3 separate regions of the Homo sapiens genome follow, and all the other regions are linked to region 1. Evidence: promoter capture Hi-C in 16 types of primary human blood cells and fetal thymus (Javierre and others, 2016). All regions are on one chromosome and are shown on one strand. Each heading gives the region's core, a stretch centred on a gene start or on the middle of the fragment in contact. The rest is flanking DNA. Distances are from core to core; before and after follow the strand shown.

Evidence for each region. The method cuts DNA at HindIII sites, captures the fragments that hold promoters and counts their contacts. A CHiCAGO score of 5 or more calls a contact.
Region 2: a contact is called between a fragment that was not itself captured here and the fragment with the promoter of MESP1 in region 1, in 1 of 17 cell types (M2 macrophages). The highest score is 5.2, in M2 macrophages.
Region 3: a contact is called between a fragment that was not itself captured here and the fragment with the promoter of MESP1 in region 1, in 7 of 17 cell types (endothelial precursors, M2 macrophages, M1 macrophages and 4 more). The highest score is 9.7, in endothelial precursors.

Annotation. Positions count from the first base shown.
Region 1 is chr15:89,749,582-89,753,854 of GRCh38, reverse strand. It overlaps MESP1 (mesoderm posterior bHLH transcription factor 1), which reads left to right and starts at 2,606. Exons shown (of 2, transcript NM_018670.4): 1 at 2,606-3,346; 2 at 3,628-3,980. The coding sequence starts at 2,624. The coding sequence ends at 3,711. It also overlaps the pseudogene MRPL15P1. RefSeq lists silencers at 2,556-2,985, 3,046-3,335. The HindIII fragment of the contact is 7,264 bases long and covers 2,047-4,273 here.
Region 2 is chr15:89,940,016-89,944,861 of GRCh38, reverse strand. No RefSeq gene overlaps it. Among named protein-coding and RNA genes, the nearest start is that of ARPIN-AP3S2, 29 kb to the right of the region's middle. The HindIII fragment of the contact is 9,566 bases long and covers 1-4,846 here.
Region 3 is chr15:89,980,999-89,985,640 of GRCh38, reverse strand. No RefSeq gene overlaps it. Among named protein-coding and RNA genes, the nearest start is that of ZNF710, 18 kb to the left of the region's middle. RefSeq lists an enhancer at 2,683-3,404. The HindIII fragment of the contact is 1,566 bases long and covers 484-2,049 here.

The DNA of each region.
Region 1 (4,273 bases), core at 1,357-3,856:
CCTATTAAGACCAGGGTGCAAACTCAAACTCCTGAGGGGCCAGGTGAAATTTCATCCAGGCTGCAGTGCAATGGAGCGATCTTGGCTTACCATAACTTCCGCCTCCCGGGTTCAAGCGATTATCCTGCCTCAGCCTCCCGAGTAGCTGGGATTGCCGGCGTCTGCCACCATGCCTGGCTAATTTTTGTATTTTTAGTAGAGACGGGGTTTCGCCATGTTGGCCAGGCTGGTCTCAAACTCCTGATCTCACGATCCACCCTCTTCGGCCTCCCAAAGTGCTGAGATTACAGGTGTTAGCCATTGTGCCTGGCCCTTTTCTAATATTCTTTAACAACTCTGCTTTCTTGGATGGGAATTCATGAGCTCTAGTACTTGAGGAGATTTTCATCTGTAGATGTTAGGATTTTCTTATCTACTATATTCAGCACCCATCCTGGAGCAAACTCAAAGAAAATCTGCCTTGGATCCTTCTGAGTACTGAACATTTGAAGAGTTCTTCTTTCGTGATATCCAGTAAATTAGAACTGTCCTTCCTGGCAAGCTCAAGTTGTGCTTCAGGAAATTTGGCAGGATCTGCCAGGTTCCCACGATTCTTTGCATTGGTGGAATATGGTACCAGTGCTTCAGAAGGAAGCATTCTTTTTGGAATGGGTTGTCTCCAAAAAGAATGGAACAGGTTTGGATAGAATTTCCAGACTTCTTGGATCCTGTAAGGCTGTAGTGACACCACCACCATTTTTTTCAATTGCAGCAATAGCTAGTTCTGAAGCCAACTGTACTTCAATATTAACTTTTTTTTTTTTTTTTTTTTTTTTGGACAGGGGGTCTCACTCTGTCATCAGACTGGAGTGCAGTGGCATGATCTCAGCTCACTGCAACCTCCACCTCCCGGGTTCAAGTGATTCTCCTACCTCAGCCTCCCAAGTAGCTGGGACTACAGGCACGTGCCACCATGCCTGGCTAATTTTTGCATTTTTAATAAGACGGGGTTTCACCACGGTGGCCAGGGTGGTCTCAATCTCCTGACCTCATGATCCACCCCCCTTGGCCTGCCAAAGTGCTGGGATTACAGGTGTGAGCCACCGCGCCCGGCCCAATATTAACTTTCACCTGAAAGGTGTCTGCGGCCTTTTCGACCAGCTGAACACCATAATCCTCTTTAAGTGGCTGAATGGTCACACCTCTTCCATTGACAAGCTGGGTTAAGTCAATAGGTTGAGTAGGATCAACACGACCCAAATCAGTAACATATTACAGTCTATTGATACTTAAAGGTTGATACTGGTGTCTGAAGCTAAGTCCTTCATTAAATCTGTATTTTGGGATTCCGATGTAAAATAGAGTCTGGCCATCCCCAAAGCCCAGCAGAGCCAGTTTCCTCTCTGCCTTTCTCTTTTATGGCCTCTGCCGCATTTTCTACCTCTTCTCCGACCTTTTGGTCGTCTCATGGGTTTCCTGGAGCCAGGATTCCGCTTTAAATTGGTCAGGCTCATGCGCAGCAGGGCCCAGAGCTGCCATAACCTGCGAAAAGAGTTTTATTTCTTCCTTTCTGACCTGTATGTCTTTTGTTTCCTAATTGCATAGCCTAGATCCTCCATCTGGTACAATGTTGAATAGGAGTGGTAAGAGAGACACCCTCGCTTTGTTCCTGCAATCGGGGGGTGGGGGGAAGATTTCAGTCTTTCACTACTCAGTATGAGGCTACCTGTAGGTTCTTTGTAGGAGCCTTTCATCAGGTTGATGAAATTCCTCTCTATTCTTAGTTTGCTGAGAATTTTCATCACGAAGGGTGTTGGATTTTGTCAAATGCCTTTGCTGCGTCATTTCCACTCACATTTCATTGGGAAAACCTGTTATACCTGTCCAATAGCGGCAGAACATCAGGTAAAGGCCAGTGGTGACAGCTGTGGCAACAGGCCAAGCTCCAGACCTTGCCAGGCTAGAGGTGGCCTGGGGTTGGAGCAGGCTTAACCCCCTCCCTCTGCTCAGAAGGTCCAGCATCCTGACCAGACTCGGCAGCTTATTGAATTTGCCGGGGTGCAAGCTTCCTTGCACTGTCCACATGTTCTTACCAGGGAAGGGTCTACCCAGGGCCATCCTGCCTCAAAGGAGAAGTGGTTTACTGTTTTCTCCACCTTTAGAGGGAATGAGGGTCCCTGCTCCTGGTCCTTACTCTACTCCACTGTCCAATTGGCGCATGCCCTGAGGCTCTCATTATACAAATTGGAAGCTAAGGTGCAAAAGAACTAAGAATTTGCATAAGGTCCCCAACAGGTGAAGGCAGGCCCCAAACCTAGGATCTAGATTTCGTTTTTCTGACCCCGCTTCCTTTAACCTGCAGGGCTGGCCCAACGCCCCGGGCTTCACCCAACACTGGGCGCAGGCGGGAAGGCCGAGAGGCTGGGTCGGGCGCCCAAGCGAGGGCCCAGGTGGGGCGAAACAGGCGCAGTCAAGGGGCTGGCACCTTGGCCCCCCGCCGTGGATTCAAAGGGTCAGGCTCCGCCCCCTCCAAGCCCCGAGCCCACTTTGATGTGCTGATGCGGCCTGGAAGGGGCCACTTCACACCTCGGGCTCGGCATAAAGCGGCCGCCGGCCGCCGGCCCCCAGACGCGCCGCCGCTGCCATGGCCCAGCCCCTGTGCCCGCCGCTCTCCGAGTCCTGGATGCTCTCTGCGGCCTGGGGCCCAACTCGGCGGCCGCCGCCCTCCGACAAGGACTGCGGCCGCTCCCTCGTCTCGTCCCCAGACTCATGGGGCAGCACCCCAGCCGACAGCCCCGTGGCGAGCCCCGCGCGGCCAGGCACCCTCCGGGACCCCCGCGCCCCCTCCGTAGGTAGGCGCGGCGCGCGCAGCAGCCGCCTGGGCAGCGGGCAGAGGCAGAGCGCCAGTGAGCGGGAGAAACTGCGCATGCGCACGCTGGCCCGCGCCCTGCACGAGCTGCGCCGCTTTCTACCGCCGTCCGTGGCGCCCGCGGGCCAGAGCCTGACCAAGATCGAGACGCTGCGCCTGGCTATCCGCTATATCGGCCACCTGTCGGCCGTGCTAGGCCTCAGCGAGGAGAGTCTCCAGCGCCGGTGCCGGCAGCGCGGTGACGCGGGGTCCCCTCGGGGCTGCCCGCTGTGCCCCGACGACTGCCCCGCGCAGATGCAGACACGGACGCAGGCTGAGGGGCAGGGGCAGGGGCGCGGGCTGGGCCTGGTATCCGCCGTCCGCGCCGGGGCGTCCTGGGGATCCCCGCCTGCCTGCCCCGGAGCCCGAGCTGCACCCGAGCCGCGCGACCCGCCTGCGCTGTTCGCCGAGGCGGCGTGCCCTGAAGGGCAGGCGATGGAGCCAAGCCCACCGTCCCCGGTTAGTGTCCCCTTCCCCGCGCCCCCTTCGTCCGTGCCCCCGCGCACAGCCCCACCGCCCGCCAAGGTGAGGACCAGGCACCCTGCTGCTCCCCGCCGGCAGCCTGGCCACCTGGCCACCATAGTATGCCCAGGGCTCCAAGAAGCGAAGGCAGGGAAAGGCCACGCAGAGGACTGGGTCTCCCCTCGCTAGGGGCCCCCTGAGAGTGGAGCCCACGAGCGCGGACACCCGCACAAGGCCACCAGTGCTTGAGGGCTGCGCTGTTCCGTCTCTCCCTACAGCTCCTTCCGGGCGACGTGCTGGCTCTGTTGGAGACCTGGATGCCCCTCTCGCCTCTGGAGTGGCTGCCTGAGGAGCCCAAGTGACAAGGGACAACTGACGCCGTCTCTGTGAGCACCGAGGCTTTTTGGCCTCAGCACCTTCGAAGTGGTTCCTTGGCAGACTGCCTTTCCTGGAAGAGGGCACGGGCGATCCCGACGGGGGCATTCCTGCGGGTGAGAGCCGTCCCCACCGCGGCGGCCCTTCTCAGCCCCTCCCTCCATGGAGGGACCCATAGGGCTAGACACTTTGAGGCAAGCAGGAGGCTCTGCCTAATGTGAATTTATTTATTTGTGAATAAACTGTACTGGTGTCAGTTGGCAATTTCTTCTTCCTACCCGTGGACACAGAGCTCCCTCTCTCCCTCCAAAGAAGAGCATGGGAGAGGTGGGAGGGGTTCTTGCAATCTTTAGCCCCCCGACCCCCACAGGCCCAGACCCCTTTGGCCTTACCCCCAGCCCTGGCTCAGCATCTAGTCCAGATGGGTCAGCCTGGAATGGGTGGGGAGGGACGTCCTGTGAGAAGGCAGCGGCAAGTAGAATCTGCTCATCTTTTCTTTGAACCTGGTGGGGAACTGGTTAAAACCAAAATATCTGTGTAGAAATACAA
Region 2 (4,846 bases), core at 786-3,285, 190 kb before region 1:
TGAAAGGAAACAATTCATTGTTCAGGCCCCTATAAATGTGATGAAGCTGTTTTTAAAAACCAAAAGGGCCTGATGCTGTGTCTCACTTAAGGCCATGATTTCAAGATCAGTCTGGGCAATATAGCAAGATTCCTTCCTACCAAAAAAAATTTTTTTAAATTAGCTGTGCGTGGTGGTGCACACCTGTAGTCCCAGCTACTCTGGAGGCTGAGGTGGAAGGATTGCTTAAGCCCAGGAGGTGGAGGCTGCAGTGAGCTATGATCACACCACTGAATTCCAGTGTGTGTGACAGAGTGAGACCCTGACTCATAAAATGAAATACTTAAAAAAAAAAAAAAAAAAAAAAAGAAGAAGAAGAAGAAACACCAAATTTAGGATGGTGGTTATCTTTAGTTGGGGGAGGCTGGGAGATGGGAAAGGCAAGAAGCCCATGGATATTATTGGCTAGTTGGGCTGTGGATTCAAATGAGGGTTCATTATATAAATAAATGCATGCATAAATGCACACATAAGCAAATCAAAGTAAACAAAACGAAAGAGATAAAGCATGAGCTGAACAATGATAATGTGTTCTTAACTACACAGACTTCATAGCAGTGCTGCGCATCATGGTAAAAATTCTGGAAATTTTTATCAAATTAAATTGCTTTGAAAATAAACTTCCCCACCTCCACTTTCTCTGTTTCTTCTTTCTTAACTGCTTATTATTTGACCAGTGGACCTCCTGTATTGATTTTTTTTTTTTTTTTTTTTTTTTTTGGCAAAGTCTTGCTCTGTTGCCCAGGCTGGAGTGCAATGACACGATCTCGGCCCACTGCAGCCTCTGCCTCCCAGGTTCAAATGATTCTCCTGCCTCAGCCTTCCAAGTAGCTGGGACTACAGGTGTGTGCCGTTATGCCTGGCTAATTTTTTTTGTTTTTTTTTTGAGATGGCGTCTCACTCTGCCGCCCAGGCTGGAGTGCAGTGGTGTGATCTCAGTGGTGATCTCAGCCCACTGCAACCTCTACCTCCCAGGTTCAAGTGATTCTCCTGCCTCAGCCTCTTGAGTAACTGGGATTACAGGCATGTGCCACCACACCCAGCTAGTTTTTGTATTTTTAGTAGAGACGGAGTTTCACCATGTTGGCCATGCTGGTCTTGAACTCCTGACCTCAGGTGATTTGCCCGCCTTGGCCTCCTGAAGTGCTGGGATTACAGGTGTGAGCTACCATGCCAGGCTTGATTTTATTTTCTATTTTCTCTTCTATTTTCCATCTCTTTGTCTCTGTCTCTTTGCTCTATTTTCTGGGAGATTTCCTCCACTTCAATTCCAACTTTTCATTTCTACCGTCATGTTTTTAATTTCCAAAAACTCATCTTCAGAAAATTCCTGAATGTTCCTTTTCTATGGTATCCTTTCTTTGCAGTATATCTGCCTCCAACTCCTGCTCTAGGACTCAGTCTTCCTGGGTATGCTGCATCATTTACCAGCCGTCCATCTATTTATTGTCTTACTATTGTCCTCTCCACCATTCTCCACTTCTTTATGGGTATATGTCTCTTAAACAATACTTTACCATAATTTAATTGTTTTTTCAGGAAGTTCTCTACCCTGAAATTTTTATGTAAATATTTACAATTGGCTGGGTGCGGTGGCTCACGCCTGTAATCTCAGCACTTTGGGAGGCTGAGGCAGGCGGATCACTTGAGGTCACAAATTTGAGACCAGCCTGGCCAACACGGTGAAACCCCGTCTCTACTGAATACCCAAAAATTAGCTGGGCGTGGTGGTTTACGCCTGTAGTCCCAGCAATTTGGGAGGCTAAGGCAGGAGAATCGCTTGAACCTGGGAGGCAGAGGTTGCAGTGAGCCAAGATTGCACCATTGCACTCCAGCCTGGGTGACAGAGCAAGATTCGGTCTCAATAAATAAATAAATAAATAAATAAATATTTACAATGTATTTATATATCAACCTCTAGATTTTAATAAGAATCTATATCGTACCTTCAAATAAAACAAGAAATCTTTTACTCTCTTTCTTCCCTCTTTCATTTATTCTCCTCTTCCCACCTCCCATGTTGAAATAATCAGAGATTCCCATTGCAGAGTTTTGTTTTGTTTATTTTTAATCCACACCTTCTTGGACATCAAAAAGTTTTACTGGCTTCTTTACCCACCACTCCTTATATCTCACATCTCCCTCTTGGATTCTGTCTTATCAATTGCTGCATTAAAAATTATCAATATTTGGCCAGGGATGGTGGCTCATGCCTGTCATCCCAGCACTTTGGGAGGCTGAGGCGGGCGGATCACAAGGTCAGGAGATCGAGACCATCCTGGCCAACATGGTGAAGCCCCATCTCTATTAAAAGTACAAAAATTAACTGGGCGTGGTGGCACGTGCCTGTAATCTCAGCTACTCAGGAGGCTGAGGCAGGAGAATCACTTGAACTAGGGAGTTGGAGGTTGCAGTGAGCTGAGATCGCGCCACTGCACTCCAGCCTAGGCGACAGAGTCAGACTCTGTCTCAAACAAAAACAAAACAAAACAAAAAATTATCAATATTTAGTGGCTTAAAACAAAATATGGCTGGGCGCTGTGGCTCCTTCCTGTAATCCCAGCACTTTCGGAGGCCGAGCCCAGTGGGTCGTTTGAGCTCAGGAGTTCAAGACCAGCCTGGGCAGCAAGGCAAAATTCCTGTCTCTACAAAAAATACAAAAATTAGCTGAGCAGGGTGGTGTGCACCTGTAGTCCCAGCTACTCAGGAGGCTGAAGTGGGAGGATCGCTTGAGCCCAGGAGGAGGAGGTTGCAGTGAACTGTGATTGCACCACTCCACTCCAGCCTGGTTGACAGAGTAAGACTCTGTCTCAGGTAAAAAACAACAACAACAACAAAAAAGAAACATGTATTATTTCACAGTTTTCCTGGGCCAGGATGCAAGCATAGCTTAGCTGGGCCCTCTGATTCAGGGTCTTTTGAGGCTGCAATCAATGCTGGGCTCTCCTCCAAAGGGTTGACTGGGGAAAGATTCAGAATTTAGTTTATTCAGGGCTGTTGGCCTCAGGGTCTCAGTTCCTAGCTGGATGTTGGCTGGAGGCTTCCCTTGGGCCTTTGCAATATGGATATCTCCATAGGGTAGCTCACAACATGTCAGCTGGGTCCTCTGAGTAAGCAAAGGAGAAAATTTTCTAGCAAAATAGAAGCCAGAACTTTTGCTGTCTCCTATCGGCTAGAAGCAAGTCACAGGCCCACCTACACTCATGGAGAGGGCATTACACAAGGGAGTGAACACCAACAGGTGGGGATCACTGGGGACCCTCTTAGTGTCTGTCTGCCACAAATTCCTAATTTTTCTTGTTGAAACACATCCTCTAATAATTCTTTCATATGTGGTTCTTGGCTGGTAAAATGTTTTAGATCTTGGCCGGGCGCGGTGGCTCATGCCTGTAATCCCAGCACTTTGGGAGGCCGAGGCGGGTGGATCACCTGAGGTTGGGAGTTCGAGACCAGCCTGACCAACATGGAGAAACCCCGTCTCTACTAAAAATACAAAATTAGCCGGGTGTGGTGGTGTGCGCCTGAAGTCCCAGCTACTCGCGAGGCTGAGGCAGGAGAATCACTTGAACCCGGGAGGCGGAGTTTGCGGTGAGCCAAGATCACGCCACTGCACTCTAGCCTGGGCAACGAGAGCGAGACTCTGTCTCAAAAAAAAAAGAAAAAAAAGTTTTAGATCTCAAAGGTCTGAAATGGACGTGTTTTGTTCTCCACTTGGTGGATAGTATATGTGGGGATAGATTTCTGGGCTCATAATGTTTTTCCCCCTTGTAAGGCCGAGGTGGGCAGATCACCCGAGGTCAGGAGTTTAAGACCAGCCTGGCCAATGTGGTGAAATTCCGTCTCTACTAAAAATACAAAAATTAGCCGGGCATGGTGTCAGATGCCTGTAATTCCAGCTACTCGGGAGGCTGAGGCAGAAGAATTGCTTGAACCCGGGAGGTGTAGGTTGCAGTGAGCCGTGATTGCACCATTGCACTCCAGCCTGGGCAACAAGAGTGAAACTCCATCTCAAAAAAGATAATAAGAAAAATAAAAATAAACGTTTTTTCCCCCTCAGACTTTGTCATTATCTTCTTGCATCCAGTGTTACCAAAAGAAGAGCTGATGCCAATCCAATTTTTTGTCCCTTTTTAGTTGATCTGTTTTTCCTCTCTTAAGGAAGGATTTCTTTAAAAAAGTATTTTTAGAGATGGGTGTTTCACTATGTTGCCCAGGCTGGTCTTGAACTCCTGGCCTCAAGTGGTCTTCCCGCCTCAGCCTCCCAAATAGCTTGGATTACAGGCGCATGCCGCCACAACCCACTCCAAGACTTATCTTTTATCTCTGATATTGTGAGATGTCACCACACTGTCACTGGGTACAGTTCATTTGTTTTTTTTTTTCTTTTTTTAATTGACAAATAAAATTGTACATATATGGTGAGCAACATGATGTTTTGAGATATGTAAACACTGTGGAATAGCTATATCAAGCTAATTAATGTATGCATTACTTCACATACTTATTTGTACTAAGAACACTTAAAATCTACTCTCTTAGCAATGTTCAAGTATATAGTACGTTGCTTTCGACTATAGTCACCAGGTTGTACAATAGGTCTCTTGAACTTATATTTTCTGTCTAACTGAAATTTTGTATCCTCTGACCAACATCTCCCCAGTCCCTGGCAAACACCATTCTATTCTCTGCTTCTATGAGCTTGACTTTTTTACAGTTCACATACAAGTGAGATCATTCAGTATTTGTCTTTCTGTGTCTGGCTTATTTCACTTCACATAATGTCCTCCAAGTTCATCCATAGCAACAT
Region 3 (4,642 bases), core at 17-2,516, 230 kb before region 1:
AAAAACCTATAAGTTATTTTGAACTATTTTATATCATTATTTATAGATGAAAACCATTTCATAACTTTTTAGGAAGATGTTACTTCATTTTTTTTGTTTATTAACCGATCTAAATGTATTTTAGCTTTTCTATACCATATGAAAATGAGATGCTGCCCAGGCATGGCGGCTCAGGCCTGTAATCCTAGCACTTTGGGAGGCTGAGGCAGATGGATCACTTGAACTCAGGAGTTCAAGACCAGCCTGGGCAACATAGTGAAATCTTATCTCTACAAAAAACAAAAAATTAGCTGGGCGTGGTGGTGCATGCTTGTGGTCTCAGCTACTTGCAAGGCTGAGGTGGGAGGATCGCTTCAGCCAGGGAAGTGAGGTTGCAGTGAGTTGGGATTGTGCCACTGCACTCCAGCCTGGGTGACAGAGCAAGACTCTATCTAAAAAAAAAGAGAAGAAAAGAAAGAAATAAGATGCCCAAGTACATAAGCTTATGTTTAATATTTCAGTATTTTAACTTACTTAGAAATGACTTAGACATTTTATGATTACATATTCATTAATTTAAGATAAGATGACTTATAATATACAAGTACCCTCCCCAGTGTCTTCCTCAGTCATCTTGGGTCCCAAGTACCCATGTGGCACCAAGGATGGCAATGAAGGGCGAGCCCATCTCGATCCTGAATTTATATGCCAGGTGTAGAGCTTAGGATGGAGCTGTGAAGACAATGCCTGGAGGATCTGACCCTTTCCCACATGGGTAGGAAACACAGCTGGGCCAGGGAGGACATATTGGGTTTGTCTCTGCCCTGTCACTGGTGGCTTAGGTGCTATAGACATACATATGTCTTCAGGGCTTACTATGGCCACCTGTGTAGAATCCAGACTCTAAAGGTGCAAAACCAAAGACGGAAGCTCACAGTAAGATGTATGCAATGCTTCAGGGAAGCCTAGCAGCCACTCACACAGCTTTAGCTCACAAATAAATCAAGAAAGTATAAAAAAATTACAGAAGCAACAGCTGTATGACCTTAAAATATCTAGCAAAGACAGTAAAACCCGTCCAACCCATAGACCCAGGCAAAAATGTCTTAACTATATTTAATACCGACAATTCTGAAAAATCCTAATTTCATATTACCAACGATTTTAAAACTAGTTTTATTTATAAAAGATGACTAAAGTCACATGAACTTAAAAAGCATTTGGTAGCCAGGCATGGTGGCATGTACCTGTAGTCCTAGCTACTCAGGAGGCTGAAGCAGGGGATCACTTGAGCCCAGAAGTTCAAAGATGCAGCAAGCTATGATCACATCACTGCATACCAGCCTGCGTGACAGAGTGAGACCCTGTCTCAAAAAAAGAAAGAACAAAAGAAAGAAAGAATGAAGGAAAGAAGGAAGGAAGGAAGGAGAGTGAGAAAGAAAGAAAGAAAGAAAGAAAGAAAGAAAGGAAGGAAGAAAGAGAAAGAAAGAAAGAAAGAAAGAAAGGGAGAGAAGAAAGGCATTTGGATTTACGTATTTAATTTATGAACATTCATTTATTACAAGTCAACTTGGAACCATGTAGACAGTATACAAACAAAGACATGTATGCTGTATACATAAAAAATACAGACAGGCCAGGTGGGTGGCTCATGCTTGTAATCGCAGCACTTTGGGAGGCTGGGGCTGGAGGATCACTTGAGCCCAAAATTTGAGGCTAGCCTGGCCAACATAAGGAGATCCCATCTCTACAAAAATAATTTTTAAAAATATCAGCTGGGTGTGGGTGGTGCTCATCTATTGTCCCAGCTACTTGGGAGGCTAGGGTGGGAGGACTGCCTGAGCCCAGAAAGTCAAGGTACTCCAGCCTGGGTGACACAGTGAGACTTTGTCTCAAAAAACCAACAAACAAAAAATCCAAAACAAACAAACAAAAAAAACCTACACAGACACAAAAATAATGATGTTAATGCTTTTACTTAAAGTTTTAGCCATAAAACTGGTAAAACTCACTAGTTTAAAAGGACAGTTGGATTAAATTGTGCCTTGTTAAATGGAGTAAGTTAAAGCTTATTGAAGCCCTTGTCAAGTTTTTGAGAAAACAGAGTAGCAAACTTGCATCTCAATGCACAGAGAGAATTTAAACATTTTCAGGGAGTTTGGGTGTATTAGAAGAAGATTAAAAATGGATGCCAAAGCCAGGTGTGGTGTCTCACACCTGTAATCCCAGCACTGTGGGAGGCGGAAGTGGGCAGATCACCTGAGGTCAGGAGTTCCAGACCAGCCTGGCCAACATGGTGAAACCCCATCTCTATCAAAAATACAAAAATTAGCCGGGTTTGATGGCAGGCGCCTGTAATCCCAGCTACTCGGGAGGCTGAGGTAGGAGGATCACCAGAATCAGGGAGGCGGAGGTTGCAGTGAGTGGAGATCACACCACTACACTCCAGCTGGGCGACAGAGCGAGACTCCGTCTCAAATAAATAAATAAACCCACAAAGACAACTTACCTTCATGCATCTTTCAGTTTGGAACGGGAATTAGTCAGAAATTCAAAGACAAGTCTGAATTACAATCAATAGGAGGGCTGCAATTTTAAAAGCAATGCTACATTATTTTCTGCCAAGAGAGGTGAAACCACCAGCACCTGACAGCCGATAACTGGATCCTTTTGCCCTGAAGCAGAGTTGGAGAAGGCAGAAGTCCTCAGCAGAGCTCTTTTCCTGAATCTTCTGTGTAGAGACAGAGACCAAAGCCCTGATTCTTAAATGAAAGAGAGGGTTTGAAATTACTGGAGTCAAAGGAACACAATAGAGTGAGGCTGGCACCCAGCACTGAGTCTCAGAGGGAACACTGGGTAGTCAGTGGCGGTCACTCTGAATCCTGTGGATCTGTGCCAGATACGTTAACTTACAGAAAGAAACTGAGGCAAATTAATACAAGTAGAGAATTTATCTGGGGCTAGTTTGGAAACTGCAACTTGGGAGCATAGATTCAAGTTGCCCTGAATATACACTCTGATTAGCAGAAGTTACAGGTGGGTTTTGTTGTTGTTGTTGTTGTGTGTTTGTTTGTTTTAGTACTCAGTGGTTATAGCAACTAGTGGGTTTTTAAATGAAAAACAAAGAGGCAGTTCCTAAATTGTTTACCAAGAATTTGCATGAAAATAATGGCAGCCCTGCGCCGGTGGCCCACACCTGTAATCCCAGCACCTTGGGAGGCCGAGGAGGGTGGATTACAAGAGGCCAGGAGTTCAAGAGCAGTCTTGGCAACATGGTAAAACCCTGTCTCTACTAAAAATACAAAAATTAGCCGGGCATGGTGGCACATATCTGTGGTCCCAGCTACTCGGGAGGCTGAGACAGGAGAACTGCTTGAACCTGGGAGGTGGAAGTTGCAGTGAGCCGAGGATGGCGCTGCTGTACTCCAGCCTGGGCGACAGAGTGAGACTCTGTCTCAAGAAAAAAAAAAAAAAGAAAAAAGAAAAGAAGAACATAGCTATTAATTGGCTATACATTGCTCTTTGTATCACAAATTTCAGGAACATGAAGATAATGGGTGAGGCGGCTAGTCAGGAAATTACAAGGGAGAAAAGAAAGAACAAAATGTCATTGAACAATTGCCGCTGGGCATGGGTGACCCCATCCCATGGGCATGGGATGCAGGACTGAAATCCCATAGTCCTGTCTCTCTAGACCTGATAAATTTTGCATACCTCACATAGCTCGGACTGCTCTGAGCTATTTTTCTTTTTCTCACTGGTAAGCCCCTACCATAGCTCCCCAAACTTCATGGCAGCATTTTGTGCACTAGTAACTATTTAATTGTTTATAACACTGTGTGTCCTGCCCCTCTCATCCTGGCTTGCGGTTCCAAAAGGATAGGGACCATATCTTCCTTCAAACCTCCGAGTCCCAGTGCTCAATCAATACTGTGAAATGAATGAATGAACAGACGTGCAGGCTTCAATCGCCCAGTCAAATAGAGACTGCAAAGTTGTTTTCTAATAATGAAGGAACTGGTAGGGGGCGGGATTTGATTGGACATCCAAGCCAGGAAGAAGATGTTCGAGGAAGCAGGGATTCACTGATACAGGGGCTGTGGGGGCCAAGTGGAAGGGAGTATCAGAGTGTAGCAAGCACCAGATTCATAGTTGGTGTCTTGCTCCCGCTCTAAGGCTGGGGTGCTTAAGTGGAGAAAGCTGACGGTGGCAGGTAGTAAGTGCTTGGTAAACGTTGGTCATTAAAATTAATGCAATAGGCCAGGTGCAGTGGCTGACACCTGTAATCTCAGCACTTTGGGAGGCTGAGACAGGTGAATCACCTGAGGCCAGGAGTTCGAGACCAGCCTGGCCAACATGGCTGTATTAGTCCGTTCACACGCTGCTAATAAAGACATACCTGAGACTGGGGAATTTGTAAAGGAAAGAGGTTTAATTGACTCACAGTTCAGCATGGCTGGGGAGGCCTCAGAAAAACTGCAATTATGGCGGAAGGGGAAGGAAACATGTCCTTCTTCACATGGCAACAACAAGGAGAAGTGCTGAGCAAAAGGGAGAAAAGCCCCTTATAAAGCCATTAGATCTCATGAGAATTCACTCACTGTCACAAGAAAAGCATGAGGGAAACCGCCCCCATGATGAAATTACCTCTTAATGGGTCCCT